Regions from separate parts of the Homo sapiens genome. Here region 2 is linked to region 1. Evidence: promoter capture Hi-C in 16 types of primary human blood cells and fetal thymus (Javierre and others, 2016). All regions are on one chromosome and are shown on one strand. Each heading gives the region's core, a stretch centred on a gene start or on the middle of the fragment in contact. The rest is flanking DNA. Distances are from core to core; before and after follow the strand shown.

Region 1 (4,230 bases), core at 1,276-3,775:
AGACTCCCCTGCAAAACTGCCTGCCTGTCACCGAGACCCAGGCTAGAGACATCCTGCCTCATTCTACTTTTTGCATTAGTCAGCCAAGGTTATTCTGAATGCAATCTTCTCTCCCTCCCCCCAACTCCTTCTCCAATTATACTCCTGCCCTATCAGATAATTCCTCACCCTTCCTCCCCCGCAATGCTCCACAACACATGCAATTTCACTTGCCATTCTAAAAAGCCTATGTACCACAGTCCTCTTCCCGCTGGAAGGCTGTAACCCTGGAGAGGATGTTGAAAAGAAAACACTTTCTTAAGGGGGTAGGCTTTCACCATTGTGACATTACACTGCATCTTATTAAGAGTGGGTGGAATTGTTAAAGAGATAAATGCCTTGTCTTTCAGCATCCCTGATTATTTTAGAAATATCCTTATAGGGCTTTCTAACATTATCCTAATCCTCTATCACACTGCTTAATCATCCAAACCTCTCTTAAGAATTAGTCAGGAAATTCCTATTGTAACGCTTTGAGCAGATATTAGCAGGTATAGACAGGTTACCCTGAATTCCAGAGGACCAAAATTCAGGGAAGACAATGTATATAACTGCTGTAAGAGTAAATATGGACAAGATGAGTCAAAGCAAACTCTTCTTAACCCTAGATACCCAAAGCCATTGGATTCTGGCTCTCTTTAAAAGCCATTGGATTCTGACTATCTTTACTATGTCAGCATAGTTTGTTAAGAAAATGAGATTTGAGGATATTGTCTAACAATCTGGCTTTTTTTTTTTTTTTTGAGACAAGTTTGTTACTTGTGACAATCCCCAGCTTTCAGTAGCACATGAGTTTTTTTGAGTTTTCATAGATGTAAGAAGTTACCCCAAGGAACGGTTCAAATTATTTGTTCAAGTGAAAATGAATATCTGAAATTAAGCACAACCCAAAATGTGATCTATTTCTTTGTCCACTTGGGACTGTCTGGTCTAGCAGCAGTTATAATTTGATTGAGCCTTGACTGCTGCTCCTTTTTCCAAGACAGAATTAGCCAATTCCAATACCCTGTAAGCAGACACAGTCTGAGAAGAGAACAAACAGTTACTTAGTGACTGCCTGGGGGAAAAAAAATACCACTTGGTTCTCTTCACCTCTCCCTCTCTGAAATAATCCACTAAGTTTCTTGCCTATGACAGCTAGAACATGAAACAATCAGATATTAGAGCTACAGCCAATACTCTTTTTCACATTTCACAATGGGTTGTCAGATGCAGCACACAAAAAAATGTCAAATTTGCATAAATATCATAAGCATGTTGTGCCTATTTTCTCATTCTGTTCACTCTTTCTCATTAATTTGAGTGAGACAGTACAAGCTCTACAGACTGTGCGTCTTGTCCCCTGCACCTTTTTCCCCCTTCTGTTCTTGCTCTGTCCCCAGATGGTAAAATCCACCCTCAGGCTCACGTCTAGTGCACACAGGGAAGGGACTAAATCGGGATCTCCTGTGGAGGGGAGGGTTTTTTTTTTTAAGGTAAGAATTTATTTGTCTTATATTTATCTAATTTTATTAGAAGATGATGACTGTGGCATCGTCTACATGTTAGCCCCAGTGTTGAAAAAGAAAAGAAATCTGGACCTCCTGATTCATGGTCCCTTTTACCCCAGGGTGGCCATTTCTCAAGATCTGAGCGCAGCCCATCAGAAGACTTGAAGTGACCACAGACAGGGCAGGTCTTGGTGGAGGCAGGAGAACCGCAAGGATGGTATCTGAGAGGATATGACAAGATCAGGGCACATTGAGAAGACCTAGAAATTCCTCCCCTATTTCCCAAGCAAGTTCTGCTTTGCCTGCCCTCCTCCCCACAACCAACTACTGCGCGCCCCTCCTGGCTGCCACTCTGCTGTCCCTCATCCCATTTTCCCAAAGGAGCACGGGGACATCAGGAATGCGCTCCATCACAGAACCGCGACACACAGCCTCTACATAGCGTCTGAGTTGCAGGCAGGGGTCTCACAATCACCCTATTCTGTACGCAAGAGGCCCTTGGAATAAAGAGGAGGTAAGCTGCCCACGCTCAACCCTTTGCCCTGTCGCGTCCTCTTCCTCCTACGGAAAATAGCTGCGGGTCACTGAGACGCTTTTCAACATAACGCCAGCCCCAGAGCTCAGGTGAGACCTCTAGAGAGAAAGCTCGCAGGTACCTCATCCGCATGCTGTTATTATCTGCCAGCCCACTTATCCAGGAGCTCGGTCCTCAGCGGGCTGCGCGCACCGCGCGGAAGGGCGCATCTTCACCTCGTGGCTCTGGCGGCAGAGACGCGCGGGGCTTGCTCGGGAGCGAGGAGCGAAAAGTTGTGCGCCCACTTGGGTAGGGGGAAAGAGAGCGATCGAGCCAGCGCGGGAGAGCGAAGGGGGAAGGCGGGGAGGGGGCGGGGAGGGGGGACTGCTTACATGAATTTCCAAGTGGTAGACCTGCCTCTGCGCTCTGCCCAATGAGATCCGTCAGGGGAGGCACCCGGCTCACTTTTCCACATCACTTCACAGTTACATTTGGCAGGCAGGCGGGCTCGCACGCCGGAGCGCTCAGCCCAGAATTAGTGGATTTATTTGGAATCTCCCTGCCTCCTCCAAGCTCCGCCGCCGCCGCCGGCTTGTGCATAGACGGTAGCGTCAAGACACCAGCTGCACTTTGGGTTGCGGACACCCAGAGCCCAGCGCGCCCGCCCTGCGTCTCCGCACCAAGCCCTGTAGCTCCGAGAGGCATGAACGGAATCCGGAGGCGCCTGCCTAGCGAGCGAGGACCGGTCGGCGCTTGCCGCCCTCGGGAGCTAACCCCGAGCACCTCCAGCCATTTGTGAACCTGGAGGCTTGACATTCGCCAGCGCAGGGCCCCACAAGAGTAAGTGTTCCCCTAACCCACCCCCGTTTTCCTCTATGTTCCGACTATCCAGAAGGGACCGTTTCTTATAGGAATTCCCATGCCCCTTCGGACACCTTGCGCGCCTCCTGCCCCTCAGATGGTGGATGAGGGTTCTTAGCATAGGCTCTGGGCTAAGCTGTGTCTTTCGCGATATCCGTGGGTGATAACGTACGTACGCCTCAAGGTTTTGCCTGACTGTTTTTGCAAACTGCTTTGACAACAGATCCTAGAGAGTAGCAAGCTCCAGGCTGTGCCCCTCCAGTTTTCCTGCCGGTTTCCTTCCCTGCGGCGACTTGGCTATTTCGCCGCTTCCCAACGCAGGCAGGCGCGGCTGCAGCCGCGCGCCTTCACTGCGGGGTCCGTGCGGTGAATGGGAAGCACCTGCAGCCCGCTGTGCGGAGGGTGCAAGCCAGGGAAAAAAGGAGGCGAGGGGGCCCGAGTGGTCTATGGCTGGTTTTCTGCACCGCCTCATCTCCGAGGCGAGGGAGGGCGACCCCCGCGGCAGGGCTGCGGGCCAAGGCTCAGCTGCGAAAGCCCCAGCGCGAGGCTTTCCCACAAGTGGCAGCTCCAGCTCTGGGAGGTGCGGTGCCCGCTACAAACTTGCCGGGCTCCGGAGTCGCCCTGCGGCTCTGCCCTCGCCAAGACGCTGCCCAGCACCCCTGCAGGACCCCCAGGCAGTGTCTCCCCGCAACTCGAGATTGCGTGCACGGAGGCCCCCTTAAGCCGGGGACTCCGTAGCCGCTCTCCTAGGGACAGCTGAGCCCAGACCTGCGCTTTCTGTGGTCTGGCCGCTTCTCATCCGGGAACCTTTGAGGGGCTGGTCGCGCCCCTCGCAGGATCGGAGGGAAAAAGGCTCTTGCCTAGGTTCTGCCAGTACGTAAGAGGTTCATAAGGGACCTACTCCGGTTCTCCCAGGATCCAGCCAAGGCTGGGAAACGGTAAAAAAACGTGCTGCCGCCAACGCTGATGCCAACAGGTATCCACAATTTCCTCCGCTTATTCCTCCCAAACACCAGAGCCTTCCCCCACCCAGTCTGGCAGAATCCTCAAAGTTTCCTTGCGGTTGACCCTTCCCCCGCAGGCACGGAGCCGGCGGCATGTCAAGGACTAGCCGTTTGCCTCCACCAGCGGAGATGGCAGCTGTTTGCTTGGGTTGCTAAATGTAAGAAATCAAACCACATTAATTGTTTATTGTTGCAAACGCACAATATTAGTCCGTAATGGAAAATCGGGCTGGCAGCTGCTCACTTCAGCACCAATTAAACGATAGAGCTTATCACCAAGACAGCGGGAGGGAGGAAAGGTCCTTTCAACTTTACCACCCTT
Region 2 (4,230 bases), core at 1,055-3,554, 3.2 Mb after region 1:
TGGTAGAAGAATAAAACTGGAGTTCTGTCTCTCACCATAAACAAAAAATTAACTCAAGATGAATTAAAGACTTAAACATAAGACCTGAAACTAAATTCAAACATAAGACCTGAAACTATAAAAATCCTGGAAGGGAACCTAGGAAAAACTCTTCTGGCCATTGGCCATTGGCCTAGGCAAAGAATTTATTATGAAGACCTCAAAAGCAAATGCAACAAAAACAAAAATCAACAAATGGAACTTAAACTAAAAAGCTTCTGCACAGCAAAAGAAGTATCACAGTAAACAGACAACCTACAGAATGGGAGAAAATATTTGCAAATTATGTATCCAACAAAGGACTAATATTCAGAATGTACATTAAACTCAAACAATTCAGTAAGAAAAAACAAAGCCATTAAAAGCCCAGCAAAGCCAAAGTAATTTATAGATTCAATGCTATACCCATCAAGCTATATACCACTGACTTTCTTCACAGAATTGGAAAAAACTACTTTAAACTTCATATGGAACCAAAAAAGAGCCTGCATAGCCAAGAAAATCCTGGCAAAGAAGAACAAAGCTGGAGGCATCATGCTACTTGACTTCAAACTACACTACAAGGCTACAGTAACCAAAACAGCATGGTACTGGTACCAAAACAGAGATATAGACCAATGGAACAGAACAGAGGCCTCAGAAATAATACCACACATCTACAACCATCTGATCTTCGACAAACCTGACACAAACAAGCAATGGGGAAAAGATTCCCTATTTAATAAATGGTGTTGGGAAAACTGGCTAGCCATATGCAGAAAACAGAAATTGGACCCCTTCCTTACACCTTATACAAAAATCAACTCAAGATGGATCAAAGACTTAAATGTAAAACCTAGGATCATAAAAATCCTACAATAAAACCTGGGCAATACCATTCAGGACATAGGCATGGGCAAGGACTTCATGTCTAAAACACCAAAAGCAATGGCAACAAAAGACAAAATTGACAAATGGGATCTAATTAAACTAAAGAGCTTCTGCACAGCAAAAGAAGCTATCATCAGAGTGAACAGGCAACCTACAGAATGGGAGAAAATTTCTGCAATCTATCCATCTGACAAAGGGCTAATATCTAAAATCTACAAAGAACTTAAACAAATTTATAAGAAAAAAACAACCCTATCAAAAAGTGGGCAAAGGATATGAACAGACACTTCTCAAAAGAAGACATTTATGCAGCCAACAGATATATGAAAAAATGCTCATCATCACTGGTCATTAGAGATATGCAAATCAAAACCACAATGAGATACCATCTCATGCCAGTTAGAATGGCGATCATTTAAAAGTCAGGAAACAACAGATGTTGGAAAGGATATGGAGAAATAGGGACACTTTTACACTGTTGGTGGGAGTGTAAATTAGTTCAACCATTGTGGAAGACAGTGTGGCGATTCCTCAAGGATCTAGAACTAGAAATACCACTTGACTCAGCAATCCCATTACTGGGTATATACCCAAAAGATTATAAATCATTTTACTATAAACACACATGCACACGTATGTTTATTGTGGCACTATTCACAATAGCAAAGACTTGGAACCAACCCAAATGTCCATCAATGATAAACTGGATAAAGAAAATGTGGCACATATACACCATGGAATATTATGCAGCCATAAAAAAGGATGAGTTCATGTCCTTTGGAGGGACATGGATGAAGCTGGAAACCATCATTCTCAGCAAACTATCACAAGAACAGAAAACCAAATACCGCATGTTCTCACTCATAAGTGGGAGTTGAACAGTGAGAACACATGAACACAGGGAGGGGAACATCACATACCGGGGCCTTTTGGCAGGGTAGGAGGAGGGGGGAGAGATAACATTAGGAGGAATACCTACTGTTGATGACAGGTTGATGGTTGCAGTAAACCACCATGGCATGTGTATACCTATGTAACAAACCTGCACGTTCTGCACATGTACACCGGAACTTAAAATATTAAAAAAAAAGTTTTTAAAAAAAAGCTGGGCAAAGGACATAAACAGACATTTCTCAAAAGGAGACATACAAACAGCCAACAAACACATGAAGAAAATGTTCAACATAACTAATCTTCAAAGAAATGTAAATTAAAACTACAATGAGATATCATCTTACACCAATCAAAATGGATATTACTAAAAAGTCAAAAAATAACAGGTGTTGGCAAGGCTGTGGAGAAAAGGAAACACATACATTTTTGTTGAGAATATAAATTAGTTCAATCACTATGGAAAACAGTATGCAGAGTTCTCAAAGAGCTAAAAATAGAACTACCATTCAGCCTAGTAATCCCACTACTGAGTATCTACCCAAAGGAAAAAAGTCTTTGTATAAAAAAAGACACCTGTACTCATATGTTCATCACAGCACTATTTACAATAGTAAACTCATGGAACCAACCTAATTGTCCATCAACAGTTGACCAGAAAATGTGGTATACATACAAAATGGAATACTATGCAGCCACTAAAAAGAATGAAATAGTGTCTTTTGCAGCAGCTTGGATGGAACTGAAGGCCATTATGCTAAGTGAACTAACTCAGAAACAGAAAACCAAATACCAAATGTTCTCACTTATAAGTGGGAGCTAAACAATAGGTATTCATGGTCATAAAGATGGAAACCATAGACACTAGGGAGTCCAAAGAGGGGGAGAGCGTGTGAGGGGGAGTTGAAAATTACCTATCCAGTACAATGTTCATTATCGGGGTATTGGGTACACTAGAAGCCAAATCCCTACTCGTATGCAATATACCCATGTAACAAACAAGCACATGTACCCCCAAATCTAAAATAAGATATATTTGAAAAAAAAATTTTTTTAAGGTTGTTAGGCCATGAGGGCTCCTCCCTCTTGAATGGGATTAAGGCTCTCATAAAAGAGTCCATGCAGAACTCAGTTAGCTTGCCCTTTCACCTTCCTCCATATAAGGACATAGTGTTCTTTCCCTCCAGAGGATGCAGCCCTCACCAATGCCTGGATTTTGGACTTCTCAGCCTCTAGGATTGTGAGAAATAAATTTCTATTTTCTTATAAATTACCCAGTCTATGGTGTTCTCTTATAGCAGCACAAAAGCAGACTAAGACAGTATTTGTAAACTGAGCCCATTCATCCCAAGCCTGACACTGTACTTACAGATATATATCTCATTTGTGGTTGCAGACTACAGCAGTCACACTCTCTTGATCTACGTGTGATTCAGTAGCAGCTGAGTGGACAGTTTTATGTGAACTCAGGCTAACATCACAGGCAGCATCTTGCCTCAAGATGCACTGTGTTCTCTGTCTGCCCTGGAAGTTCTCTAGTCCTTAAGTTGCCACTTAGCCTACATAAAACTGCAGGTAAGTTCGTGCTTTCCAACCCTCAAGACAACCTCAAACAATGGGGGATGAGGTATGTGGATGAATTCTCCAGCATCCCTCCCCTCGGATAAGAGAGGCATTCTGCAACCTTCTCAGACGTTCCCAGCAGAATTGAATCCCCATCACCCCACAGCACTGACCTTGATAATGCTTGCACTGATTTTTCTCATTCCCTGTCTGTCTCTTCCCACTCCCTTATTCCTGCTTCCCTAGTAAACTACCCACTCAAGTTCATGTCTAAGCCTCTCTTGGGAGAATTCAGACTACATGGCCCCCAACAAAGGCACACCAGACTCAATTCCAAGAAACAACATATATTTTCAAGAGATGATGTCGTATGTTTTACTCATATTAATTCAGTTGAAATGCTGGCAAGGACAAACACGGGTTTGTAGATCCAGATGATGGTTCTGGAGAGGAATTTGAAGTCAAGAGCATAAACAAGAATAACTAGGCTTTTTACTTCTCTGTTTTTAATAAACTTTAATAGGCAGCATTTCCACTACTTGAAAAGTTGGCCCTTGCCTCTTGATTCAACACTCATAAAAAGTTGTGATTCTTGTCCTGGAAGACAGGACTGCTGTGTTCAAACTATAATAACAATGTGACTTCATAACCCTCCTGGGTTTAAACTTGAGAACTCCCTGGGAAAACAGTCCACCTCCTTGCAAACACTATGAAGCCTAATACTACCAATTTGCTGATTCATCCAGTATCCAGAACTAGAATGACATAGTCACAGATATTCTGGATTTTGTTTTATTTGATTTTATTTTTAACCCATTTATGGCTTTGGTTTTTTCACAACCAATAGAAAATAAAATGCACTCATTT

Evidence for each region. The method cuts DNA at HindIII sites, captures the fragments that hold promoters and counts their contacts. A CHiCAGO score of 5 or more calls a contact.
Region 2: a fragment that was not itself captured here is called in contact with the fragment with the promoter of CDH8 in region 1 in 3 of 17 cell types (M2 macrophages, M0 macrophages and M1 macrophages); the score reaches 11.9 in M2 macrophages.

What each region holds. Positions count from the first base shown.
Region 1 is chr16:62,034,733-62,038,962 of GRCh38, reverse strand. CDH8 (cadherin 8) reads left to right here and starts at 2,525. Exons shown (of 12, transcript NM_001796.5): 1 at 2,525-2,883. It overlaps LOC124903777 (a long non-coding RNA gene), which reads right to left and starts at 2,373. Exons shown (of 2, transcript XR_007065217.1): 1 at 2,186-2,373; 2 at 1,530-1,750. RefSeq lists an enhancer at 4,223-4,230. The HindIII fragment of the contact is 7,783 bases long and covers 1-4,230 here.
Region 2 is chr16:58,820,313-58,824,542 of GRCh38, reverse strand. The region is part of intron 2 of LOC107984867 (a long non-coding RNA gene); the gene reads right to left. Among named protein-coding and RNA genes, the nearest start is that of GOT2, 88 kb to the right of the region's middle. The HindIII fragment of the contact is 4,096 bases long and covers 257-4,230 here.